Regions from separate parts of the Homo sapiens genome. Here region 2 is linked to region 1. Evidence: promoter capture Hi-C in human tissues and cell types (Jung and others, 2019). All regions are on one chromosome and are shown on one strand. Each heading gives the region's core, a stretch centred on a gene start or on the middle of the fragment in contact. The rest is flanking DNA. Distances are from core to core; before and after follow the strand shown.

Region 1 (6,450 bases), core at 198-2,697:
TCACAGAGTAACTGAGACGATTGCAACTTATTTAAAACTATGTGTAAATCATCTTGAAACAAGTTAATGAGAAAGATCACATGATTAAAACAATAAAAAATGTTGCTTGAGGAATAATGCACAGACGGAATTTAGAAAAAAGGAAAGCCAGAACAACTGCAGACGGTTCTTTTCGCTTTTGTATAGGACTGAGCTCCTCTTCCGGACAAAAACCAGGAATAAGGGAGGTCTTCTTAGTAAAAGCAAAAGTAAATTGTCTTAAAAAAAAAAAAAAGGTTGCAAGTGATTTGGTCTTTCCAGAAAAGTCAATACCATGTCTAACAGTGGTCTCTACTACAATAACCTGAAGGTGCTAATGACCCTCACAGTAAAATAAGCTAGCAAATGGCCACACCGTAGAGCGCCTACATTTACTGCCAATTAAGTCCAACTGCCGCTGTCTTAATATTTTCGCTTTTTAATGAATCCTCTCTCTAGGTATTCCGATCCATCCACCGGTAACACGCTGATACTTCGAAATACTGCAGGCAGGAGTGGACGGGGGAGAAGCCCCCCCCCTCCCCGGGCTTCTTTCGTGTTCGGGCCTCTGCTGCCGCGATCCACGGAAGCAAGAATGAGTTCCATCGCTTGGGGCTCACCAGCTAGAGGGCTGGCGGAGGCTGCGAGGGGCAGAAGTAGCAGCAGGCTACTGGGTGGGCAAGCGGTGTGTACCGCAGCTGTGGAGGACATCGACGCGGAACGCCCGGATTGAGCTCAGAACACACCGGCCCCGCCCGGGACTCATTCTACAAGCTTCTTCGGAAGAGGCGCCCGCCCGGGAGGAAGGGTCTAACCCCGGGCTCCACCGGGAGGAGATAAACTACTCACTGTCAATGTCCTCGATGAGGCTGGCGGTGCCAGGCATATAGTTCATTTTGAACTGAAATAATGCTGCAATGCACAGCGGCGGGAGGCCAGCGCGTCCAAAACCTCTTCCCTCCTACCGCAGTCGCCGCCTCGGTGGGACCAAGCCCGGAATCCCGACCGAGACCAGCACTTCTGCCCCGGCTTTCAGCCGCCGGGGGCTGCCGGAAGCTCCTCCATATTACCCTTACCCACTTCCTGTAACACGTGTGGGCCCCCAGGAAGAGGCGGGGCAGCCGTACCGTTGGGGGACACCCTTTCCCTGTTCCTGTTAAGTAGGTAAGAGGAAACTCCATTGGATAAATGGCGAGGAAACGTATACTCCCTCTTAAGGAACACGGTGTCTTCCTTCGTCTCCGGGTTCCCGAGACCCCAGAGTCACTGACCTCCGTCCCTCAGCTTTCGGGGTTCGGCAGCAGAAGGGGCGGGCCCGGGCCTGGGATTGGCTGGCGTCGTCCGACCCCCTTCGCTGCTCTCCATTCGCAATCGCCCGCGGGCGCCTGCGCGATGGGTCGGCCGTGGGGAGCGGGGCGGGAAGCGCTTCAGGGCAGCGGATCCCATGTCGGCCCTGAGGCGCTCGGGCTACGGCCCCAGTGACGGTCCGTCCTACGGCCGCTACTACGGGCCTGGGGGTGGAGATGTGCCGGTACACCCACCTCCACCCTTATATCCTCTTCGCCCTGAACCTCCCCAGCCTCCCATTTCCTGGCGGGTGCGCGGGGGCGGCCCGGCGGAGACCACCTGGCTGGGAGAAGGCGGAGGAGGCGATGGCTACTATCCCTCGGGAGGCGCCTGGCCAGAGCCTGGTCGAGCCGGAGGAAGCCACCAGGTAAGCTTTGCACCCTCTGTCCTTGCGGGGAGGTGAGGGCCCTTGGGGCTGGGGTTCGTAAAGGATCGGGTTTCATACTTGTTTTCCTTATGTGGAGGAGGGTGTGTTGCGGGGGGTGTTGGAGAGACCGAGACTAAGATCAGAGGTTGGGGGGACATGCTTGTGTTCCCTTTGCCCCTCCTTTTCTGCTTCGACCCCAAAAAATATGTTTATTACCATTTAAAAAAGAAAGATCCTGCGCGGACTTACTAAGCTTAGCAGCAGGCTGCAGATCTCTCTCCTGGGAGCGGTGCTGGGTAGGGGTGGCACGGATCTACTGCTCCAGCTCTAGCAATTTATCCTGCGTGGCTGGCAGGCCGGCTCTCCCGGGGAAGGGAAGTGGCTGCAGCCCCCGATGCCGCTCAGGGACCCTCCCGAGGGGAAGGAACCTTTGCGAGGAGGAGGGATCTGGGCATTTAGCTGTTTGCCCCTAATGCCTTGCCTGAGATCGAATCATGAATAATCAGTGTTGTAAAGTACCTTTACGCGGATTGACTGATTTAATTTTCACGGCGACTGCAAGGTAAAATGGCATTACAGCGGCCCTTTTTTTTGTTTTCGAATAAGGAACCGGGGCTCTGCGAGGTTAACTCACTTGCCTAATACACTTGGACCTGCAACATTTTATTCTCCGTTTTCCTGCCGGACATATACTTCTGCTTTGTTAATACAGTCTTCTGGGTAGTGGGTTGTCGTTCTGCGGTGGCAGCATACCTCTCTGTTCGTTCAAGAATTATCCTCATTTGTTGAAAATGTAATAGTGAAATTCTCGTACATTGCTGGTGGGGATGTAAAATGGTGGAAAATAGTTTGGTAGTTCCTCAAAACATTAAGCATTAGAATTAGTCTATGACCCAGCAAGCCCACTCCTGGCTATATACCCAAGAAAACTGATAACGTATGTTCACATAAAGCTTGTCCGCCCATGTTCATAGCATCATTATTCATAATCGCCAAAAAGTAGAAATGTCGTTTTTTTTGTTTTTTTTTTTTTTGAGTTGGAGTCTCGCTCTGTTGCCCAGGCTGGAGTGCAGTGGTGCCATCTCGGCTCACTGCAACCTCCGCCTCCCGGTTTAAGCGATTCTCCTGCCTCAGCCTCTCGAGTAGCTAGGATTACAGGCGCCGGCCATCACACCCGGCTAATTTTTGTATTTTTAGTACAGACGGGGTTTCGCCATGTTGGCCAGGATGGTCTTGAACTCCTGACCTCAAGTGATCCCCCTTTCCCCTGCCCCTCGGCCTCCCGAAGTGTTGGGATTACAGGCGTGAGCCACTGCGCTCGGCCCCAAATGTCATTTTATTATTTGAGTTATAAAGTGAGTGAACCTCTTGGAGCCCTGGTTCTTTATTCGAATACAGGAATGTTGTAAGGACATAACGACTGATGCATCGATAAACAAAATATGGTGTTAATATATTCATTCAATGGAGTATTATTTGGCCTTAGAAAGGAATGAACTGCTGATGCATGCTACAATATGAATGAACCTTGAAAACATCACACTACGTGAGCTAAGTCAGTCAGAAAGACTGCATATTGTGTGATTCCATTTATATGAAATGGCCAGAGTAGGTAAATCTAGAGACAGAAAGCTTAATGGTTGCCAGAGGTTGGGGGACTGGCGGTGTAGGTGAGAATATTCTTTTTGGGATAATGAAATGTTCTAAAATCAGGGCCTGGTGAGATGGCTCACACCTGTAATCCCAGCACTTTGAGTTGCCGAGGCTGGAGGATTGCTTGAGTCCAGGAGTTCGAGACCAGCCTGGGCAACATAGTAAGACCTTGTCTCTAAAAATAAAAAAATAAAAAACAAAAAATAAGAAATGTTCTAAAATCAGTGGTGATGGTTGCACAACTCTGAATATACTAAAAACTACTGAATTGTACATTTTAAAAGGGTAGAGTTTATAGTATGTTGATTATATCACAGTGTAAACAATTGTATGAGAAAAACATGGAGCAGTGATAAATTATTTTTTATTTTTATTTTTTATTTTTGGGACACAGTCTTGCTCTGTCGCCCAGGCTGGAATGCAGTGGCGCAATCTCAGCTCACTGCAACCTCTGCCTCCCGGGGTCAAAGTCTCCTGCTTCAGCCTTCCTAGTAGCTGGGATTACAGGCGCCTGCCACCATGCCCAACTAAATTTTGTATTTTAAGTAGAGACGGGGTTTTGTCGTGTGGGCCAGGTTGGTCTTGAACTCCTGATCTCAGGGTATCCTCCTGCCTCGGCCTCCAAAAGTGCTGGGATTACAGGTGTGAGCCACAGTGCCCGGCCAAGATTAATTATAAATTAAAGAAAGATCCAGCTGGGTGTGGTGACATGCCTGTAATCCCAGCACTTTGGGAGTCCAAGGAAGGCGGATCACCTGAGGTCAGGAGTTCGAGACCAGCCTGGCCCACATGGCAAAACCCCGTCTCTACTAAAAATACAAAAATTAGCTGGGCATGGTGGCGGGCGCCTGTAATCCCAGCTATTCGAGAGGCTGAGGCAGGAGAATCGCTTGAACCCAGGAGGCGGAGGTTGCAGTGAGCTGAGATCACACCATTCCACTCTAGCCTGGGAGACAAGAGCGAAACTCCATCTCAAAAAAAAAAATAAAGAAAGAAAGATCCATATTTTCTCAGCCTAAATCTGGAATACATAGGTCATGGGACTATAGAATGGTGAAATGCTTGGCCAAATTAGACCAAAAATCAGTTGAAGTGGGGAAAGAGGAGAGGACCTCTAAACTGATGACTGACTTTTGCTGGGCCTGCTGTATTATCAAAACCAAAGTCTGTTTTCTGGCATAGAGTTAGGGAGGGTTGGATAGACTAAAGAAGTTAAGATTTTAGCATTGTGTAAGGGGTTGTCAGGTGTGGTTTGAGTACATTTGTGCCCACAGGGTGGGTGATGGTGCTGAAGTAGTTGGAGATAAAGGTGGAAATGTGTAATGGGCATTTGTAAACCATTTTAATAGTTTGTACTATCTTTCAGATTGATGATTCTGAAACTTTAAAAGTATAGGATGGTAATTTTTCTGCAGCAATAGAAAACTCATACCAAAGATATGTATGTTGGCCGGGCGTGGTGGCTCACGCCTGTAAACCCAGCACTTTGGGAGGCTGAGGCAGGTGGATCACCTGAGGTCAGGAGTTCGAGACCAGCCTGGTCAACATGGCGAAACCCCACCTCCACTAAAAACACAAAAATTAGCCAGGCATGGTGGCGCATGCCTGTAATCCCAGCTACTAGGGGCACTGAGGCAGGAGGATCATTTGAACCCGGGAGGCAGAAGTTGCAGTGAGCCGAGATCATGCCACTGCACCCCAGCCTGGGCAGCAAAGCGAGACTCCGTCTCAAAAAAAAAAAAAAAAAAAAAAAAAAGATATGCATGTTGTCACAGATGTTGCAATGTTTTTTCCAGATTTGTTATTTTGACTTTTTTTTATGTTTTGCATTTTTATAGTATACATCTGTCAAATTAAAAAAACAAACAGTATAGGAACCTTTTATAACCTTGCTACTCAAAAAGTGTGGTCCATGGACTAGAAGCCTCGGTGTCACTTGTGAGGTTGATAGAAATGCAAAATCTCTCCTCTTCCAGACTTACTGCTGCAATTTATTAAGATCCCCAGGTGATTCATATGCACATTAATATTTCAGAAGCATTGCTCTATAGAACTGATTATATTTAGATGATGTACTGAACTACAACACAGACTTGACTATATTAACACATTTAAGTATGGCAGGGAAAAAATTAGAAATCTATCACTATTTTTTTTTTTTTTTTTGAGACCGAGTTTCACTCTGTTACCCAGGCTGGAGTGCGGTGGCCTGATCTCGGCTCACCGCAAGCTCCGCCTCTTGGGTTCACGCCCTTCTCCTGCCTCAGCCTCCCGAGTAGCTGGGATTACAGGCACCCGCCACCACGCCCGGCCAATTTTTTTGTATTTTTAGTAGAGACGGAGTTTCACCGTGTCAGCCAGGATGGTATCGATCTCCTGACCTCGTGATCCGCCCGCCTTGGCTGGGATTACAGGCGTGAGCCACCGCGCCCAGCCTTTTTTTTTTTAAATTTTTTTTTGAGACGGAGTTTTGCTCTTTTTGCCCAGGCTGGAGCGCAATGGCGCCATCTTGGCTCACTGCAACCTCCACCTCCCAGGTTCAAGCGATTTACTGCCTCAGGCTCCCAAGTAGCTGGGATTACAGGCACCCGCCACCATGCCCGACTACTTTTGTATTTTTGGTACCCGGCCACTCCCTATGTTTTTTTAGAGTAAAACTTTAGGCTGGGTGCGGTGTCTCACGCCTGTAATCCCAGCACTTTGGGAGGCTGAGGCAGGCAGATCATCTGAGGTCAGGAGTTTGAGACCAGCCTGGCCAACGTGGTGAAACCCCGTCTCTACTAAAAATACAAAAATTAGCCAGGTGTGGTGGCTCACACCTGTAATCCCAGCTACTTGGGAGGCTGAGGCAGGAGAACCACTTGAACCTGGGAGATGGAGGTTGTAGTGAGCCGAGATCACACCACTGCACTCCAGCCTGGGCAACAGAGCAAGACCTTGTCCCAGAAAAAGAAAAACAAAAATTAGCCGGGCGTGGTGGCGGGCGCCTGTAATTGCAGCTAGTCTGAGAATTGCTCAAACCAGGGAGGCGGTGGTCGCAGTGACCGAGATCATGCCACGAACTC
Region 2 (6,467 bases), core at 1,543-4,042, 200 kb after region 1:
AGATTCAATAGACACAATATTGTCTTGGCTATGGCCCAAATGCCACTAGGAGTATCTCCATATGATCTTCTTAATCTCAAATCAATTTGATAAACTAATTTTTTTAACCTATGAAATCCCAATAAGCTACCCATTCTTAAATTTAAAACGCCTCCCTATAAGGATCACTTGAGGCCAAGTGTTCAAGGCCAGCCAGGCAACAAAGTGAGACTCCATCTCTACAAAAAAATTTTAAAAAATAGCTAGGGGGACCAGCACAGTGGCTCATGCCTATAATCCCAACACTTTGGGAGGACGAGGTGGGAGGATTGGTTGAGCCCAGGAGCTCAAGACCAGCCTGGGCAACTTGGCAAAACTCTGTCTCTACAAAAAAAAAAAAAAAAAAAAAAAAAGCAAAACTAGCTGGGTGTGGTGGCACACGCCTGTAGTCCCAGCTACTCAGGAGGCTGAGGTGGGAGGATCACCTGAGCCTGGGAAGTTGAGGCTGCAGTGAGCCATGACTGTGCCACTGCACTCCAGCCTAGGTGGTAGAGGAAGACCCTGTCTCAAAAAAAAAAAAATTAGTTGGGCAGGGTGGCACATGTGTGTAGTCATAGCTACTCCAGAGGATGAGGCTAGGAGAACTGCTTGATCCAAGGAGTTCAAGACTGCAATGATCTAGGATCATGCCACTACACTCCAGCCTGGGCAAGAGAGCAAGACCCTGTCTCTAAAAATAAAAAAAATAAATAAATCTATATATCTTAGGAAATATGTATATAACTTACACCAAAATAAGAAAAAGCACACCTATGTAGAAAAATACTTGTTACTTAATATTTAATTATCTATTAGAATGTGGGTAATATAAGCTATGAAGAAAAATCAGGACACACACAGTCTTAATTTGTTTTAAGTAATCATACAGAGCCCGGCGCAGTGGCACCTGCCTGTAGTCCCAGCTACTAGAGAAGCTGAGACATGAAGACTGCTTGAGCCCAAGAGTTTCAGTCCAGCAGAGGCAACAGAGCCAGACCCTGTCTCACAAAAAAAGAGAAAAGATTAATTATACGGAAATCTGAAAATTTTATTCTCCGTAACATGACAGTCTATTTGGCCTGAAGGGGTCTCTGAAATCTTAATTTTCCCATCTTAAGACTGAGTTAAATAATTCTTGCCTGGGCGCAGTGGCTCACGCCTGTAATCCCAGGACTTTGGGAGGCCGAGGTGGATGGATCACGAGGTCAGGAGATCGAGACCATCCTAGCTAACACGGTGAAAACCCATCTCTACTAAAAATACAAAAAATTAGCCGGGCGTGCTGGGGGGCGCCTGTAGTCCCAGCTACTCGGGAGGCTGAGGCAGGAGAATGGCGCGAACACGGGAGGCGGAGCTTGCAGTGAGCCGAGATCGCGCCCCTGCACTCCAGCCTGGGCAACAGAGGGAGACTCTGTCTCGAAAAAAAAATTTAAAAATAAATAAATAAATAATAATTCTTGTGCTTTCTAACTTCACATTTTTAAAAAGCCAAGTTATTCTGTGGGAATTCTACCAAACACCTCAGAAGATGCCACATAAATGTAAGGTATTATTCATGTTTTATCTTTCCATGCTACACATGGCTAAAACTGAAACAGTATGAATATTAACAATTTTCATTTTCCTAGTCACTTGCTCTAAGTAGCCCTAAATGTAGATGGAAAAAAGAACCTAGTAATTAAATATTAGAAGGGGGAAAAGTTATCACTGTAGATCAGTTAATGACGATAAAGATCCACATCTAAAAAAACAAGCTAAGAATACTTTTTCAAAGAGCTTTTTCAAATTCAAAATCTTATCAAAAAAGTTGTGCTTTAGGAGTAACAACACATCCATGTGGTAAAAACTGAACATTCTCTAAGTCCACAAAATTTAAAATATACCTTTACCTTCTTTTCATGCTACACAGTGCAGGTACAACATACTACAGAAGTGTTTAAAGTCTTTATTACATATTTACTAACAGCAACAGTAAAAATGAAAACAAAACTGTAAGCTTTTTAAAAAAAGGTTAGATAATGTTAGTATAAGCAATTTCTTACATTTGTCCTTGTTAATATAACAATATAAGTATAATTATTTATAACTTATAAATATAATTCATAAAAAGATTGGCCTGCAGAAATAAAGTTCACCATTCATTTAAAAACTCAAATGCTGGACATGTTTATTAACAAATAAATGAATCATCTTAGTTGCTTTTTCAAAAAATAATAGACTGCTTTTAAAAAAAAAGTAAAACTAAAAACAGAATTGCATTGAAAAACAGATTTTATGGACAGATGCCAAGTTCTAAGCATTTTTAAAGTTTTAACAATTTTAATTTCTGAAGTATCTACAACAGACAAGACTATCTTTTTGTTTTAAAAGATCCCAATGAATAAGTAACCCATTTTCTTCTTGATAGAAAAAAAAAATTAAATAAAGTAAGCAACAGTCCATGCTAAGATTTTTAACTTGTTTTCAAATAGGGATTTTTAGCTCACTTTAAAATTTTTACCAATGTCTCTATTTTTTTTCCAGGTCCTTTTCTAAGACCATGATGGACCTCTAATTTTTTTCGTTTCATCGCTATCTTATTTTATTGATAATTTTATTCAAACAAGAAAAAGTCCACTAAAATCCACTTCATACAAAAACACACACCTCAAGATAACTTGGACACAATTCATTTTTGCATGTAAAAATATTTTATGCATATATGTTCACAACATGGTGAATAAAATATGAAAAAATACAAGATCTCTTGCCTCACTGCAGCTTACTCCCCTTTAACTCTTTCTACTAAATATACTTAACCTTAAGTTTGCCCCCTCACCTTGAGTTTTCATAGGCAGCTCTAATTCTTTCTTTCTTTTTTTTTTTTTGAGACAAAGTTTTGCTTTTATTGCCCAGGCTGGAGTGCAATGGCGCGACCTCAGCTCACTGCAACCTCTGCCTCCTGGGTTCAAGCGATTCTCCTGCTTCAGCCTCAAGAGTAGCTGGGATTACAGGCGCACACCACCGGGCCCGGCTAATTTTTTGTATTTTTAGTAGAGACGGGGTTTCACCATGTTGGCCAGGTTGGTCTTGAACTCCTGACCTCAGGTGATCCACCCGCCTTGGCCCCGCAAAGTGCTGGGGTTACAGGCGTGAGCCACTGCGCCCGGCCAGGCAGCTCCAATACTTTAAGGAAGTAATAGGTTGTGCTGTAAAGAACCAAGTAACGGGTTTGTCAAAAAAGCCCCAGACTTCACTTCCATAGGCCTCAGTTTTCTCTCTTCTAAAATAAAGTAGTTGTACTATCTCTCTTCCATTTAACAGGCTATTAGGAACTTAATTCAGGACCAACTATTATTTACTTATAATAGCAAAACCTGCTAACAAACTAAATGTTAATCGATGTTTTAAACAATGAAATACTTACAAGACTCTTTAAAAAAAAAAGCTGTGGATCCATATGTACTAATTTTTATTGTTTTTGTTCTTTGTTTTGTTTTGTTTTTGAGACGGAGTCTCGCTTTGCCTACCAGACTGGAGCGCAGTGGTACAATCTCAGCTCAGTGCAACCTCCGCCTCCTGGGTTCAAGCGATTGGCCTGTCTCAGCCTCCGGAGTAGCCGGGATTACAGGCACGCACCACCATGCCCGGCTAATTTTTGTATTTTTAGTAGAGACGGGAGTTTCACCATGCTGGCCAGACTGGTCTCAAACTCCTGACCTCAAGTGATCCTCCTGCCTCAGCCTCCCAAAGTGCGGGAATTACAGACGTGAGCCACCATGCCTGGCCTTGTTTTGTTTTTGAGACGGAATCTCGCTCTGTCATTCAGGCTAGAGTGCGGTGGCGCAATCTCAGCTTACTGCGGCTTTCCCCCTCGGGGTTCAGGCAGTTCTCCCATCTCAGCCTTCCGAGTAGCTGCGATTACAGGCGCCGCCACCACACCTGGCTAATTTTTGTATTTTTAGTAGAGATGGGTGTTTCGTCATGTTGGCCAGACTGGTCTCAAACGCCTGACCTCAAGCAATCCGCCCGCCTCAGCCTCCCTCCCAAAGCGCTGGGATTACAGGCGTGAGCCACTGCGCCCAGCCGTGGATTCATAGGTACTAATTTAAAAAGATGTCCCAGATAGGCTGTTAAAATGAAAAAGTGGCCAGGTGCGGTGGCTCACGCTTGTAATCCCAGCACTTTGGGAAACCTCGTCTCTACTAAAAATACAAAAATTAGCCGGCACGGTGGTGCATGCCTGTAATCCCAGCTACTCGGGAGACTGAGGCAGAAGAACCGCTTGAACCGGGAGGTGAAGTCTGCAGTGAGCCACGATCGCGCCACTGCACTCCAGCCTGGGCAACAACAGCAAAACTATCTCAAAAAACAAACAAAAAAACAAAAAAGCAAAATGCAGATAGTATGATCCATTTGAAAATATTTTAAGAGAAATATACACATACATGCATAGAAGTTTTCCAGAGGGACATACAAGAAACTTCAAGTGGTTATCAGTGGAGAAGAATGCTAACTTTATTTTTTTAACTTCTTAGCCTTCTGTAATATGTGAATATGTGAATAACTTTTTTTTTTTTTGAGACACTCCAACCTGGGCAACAAGAGTGAAACTCCGTGTCAAAACAAACAAACGAACAAACAAACAAACTCCATCTTGGCCGGGCGTGTTGGCTCATGCCTGTAATTCCAGCACTTTGGGAGGCCAAGGTGGGCAGATCACGAGGTCAGGAGTTTGAGACCAGCCTGGCCAACATAGTGAAACCCTGTCTCTACTAAAAAAAATACAAAAATTGGCCGGGCACGGTGGCTCACGCCTGTAATCCCAGGACTTTGGGAGGCCGAGGCGGGTGGATCACGAGGTCAGGAGATCGAGACCATCCTGGCTAACACCGTGAAACCCTGTCTCTACTAAAAAATACAAAAAATTAGCAGGGCGTGGTGGCGGGCGCCTGTAGTCCCAGCTGCTCCAGAGGCTGAGGCAGGAGAATGGTGTGAACCCGAGAGGCGGAGCTTGCAGTGAGCCAAGATCATGCCACTGCACTCCAGCCTGGGTGACAGAGCGAGACTCCGTCTCAAAACAAAAACAAAAACAAAAAAACACAAAAATTAGAAGGGCATGGTGGCGTGTGCCTGTAATCCCAGCTACTCGGGAGGCTAAGGCACGAGAATCACTTGAACCTGGGAGGTGGAGGTTGTATTGAACCGAGATCGCACCATTGCACTCCAGCCTAGACAACAGGAGTGAGACTCCATCTCTCAAAAAAAAAAAAAAAAAAAGTACTAACTTCATAAAACTGTTAGGAGGATAAAAGGAAATCATGCATGTGAGACACTCAGCATAGCACAGTGTGAGGACAACTGTGAGCAGCTATTAGTGGATTATGAATATTATTATAAATTCCAGAAACGCTGTCATTAGAATCAGATTTGACAGTTCACTCAACAATCACCAATCTCAAAGACAGTTTCCTTTATCCAAAACTCATTCAATCTGATCAGTGTAAGAGACGGCATTTGTTAATTTAAGGGTTAGGGAAAAAAAGAAAAAAAAAAGCCAACACAGGTAACAGGTGGGCTGATGGACATATTAATTGGTTATAAGTGTTATTTAACAAGAGTAGGCTTCTTCGTATATGAATACCTGTCCAAGGAACCAGGATACTTATGACAGCTGGGCAGGAACCCTGATCTTTAAAGGATGCTGCATACATAAAAATAAACTTTTTCTTTTTTTTTTTTTTAAGCAATGAAAGCTTCCAACACAAATTTTTCTATTTAATGATTGCTTATTTTCCTAAAAATTTGCAGCACTGATAGCTCATGCACACAATTTACCAGCTAATTACAAATAACATGTCAATCAAGTAGGAGATATAAAACTTAAATTGCCATAAAAATAAATTCCAGAAAAAGCATGCTGAATTTTTTTTTTAATGCAACTGTTCCTCACAGAATTTCAAACAAATTCAGGCTGAATATTATCAAATTAAAATACTACAAGCTGAGAGGGTGCTTTTAGTGTAAAAGCCAGATTTACAAAGTACCACTTTAACAACATTCAATTTCATTTTTCTAACAAACCAAGAATATATCCTAAGCTTCTGTATAACAACTGAGAGGATGTTGCCATTTAGGTAGGTTAAATGTAGTTCAACTGGTTTGAGTCCACCATATTACAATGTTAACAGGCCTTCTTGGTATTAGAGAACAGTTTCAATATCAATGTGATAGGTTAAAGTTTGGATTACTCCAACTGCTATAATAAAAACAAAAGGTCACACACACATTTAATCCAATATGAAATAAAATAGGCTCTACTTAACACCAATGTATGTTCTGTAAATTTGTCAGGATTTAAACCTTAGAATAGTAATTATTTCAAATTGTACAAGTAGTTACAGTTGAATATATTAGTTACTGTAGTTTCCTGAGAGTCAACTGAAGTTTCAATCAAAAAACGAACAAAC

The links. Contacts are between HindIII fragments. The study calls those that stand out against the background at their distance.
Region 2: a contact is called between a fragment that was not itself captured here and the fragment with the promoter of BAG4 in region 1, in 1 of the 25 tissues and cell types used here (hippocampus).

What each region holds. Positions count from the first base shown.
Region 1 is chr8:38,175,408-38,181,857 of GRCh38, forward strand. It overlaps BAG4 (BAG cochaperone 4), which reads left to right and starts at 1,448. Exons shown (of 5, transcript NM_004874.4): 1 at 1,448-1,732. The coding sequence starts at 1,463. LSM1 (LSM1 homolog, mRNA degradation associated) reads right to left here and starts at 1,086. Exons shown (of 4, transcript NM_014462.3): 1 at 868-1,086. The coding sequence starts at 913. RefSeq lists enhancers at 54-911, 491-580, 912-1,769, 991-1,140, 2,051-2,390. The HindIII fragment of the contact is 1,071 bases long and covers 1,265-2,335 here.
Region 2 is chr8:38,373,568-38,380,034 of GRCh38, forward strand. All of the region lies in intron 1 of NSD3 (nuclear receptor binding SET domain protein 3), which reads right to left. Among named protein-coding and RNA genes, the nearest start is that of NSD3, 5.5 kb to the right of the region's middle. RefSeq lists an enhancer at 4,445-4,946. The HindIII fragment of the contact is 6,266 bases long and covers 1-5,925 here.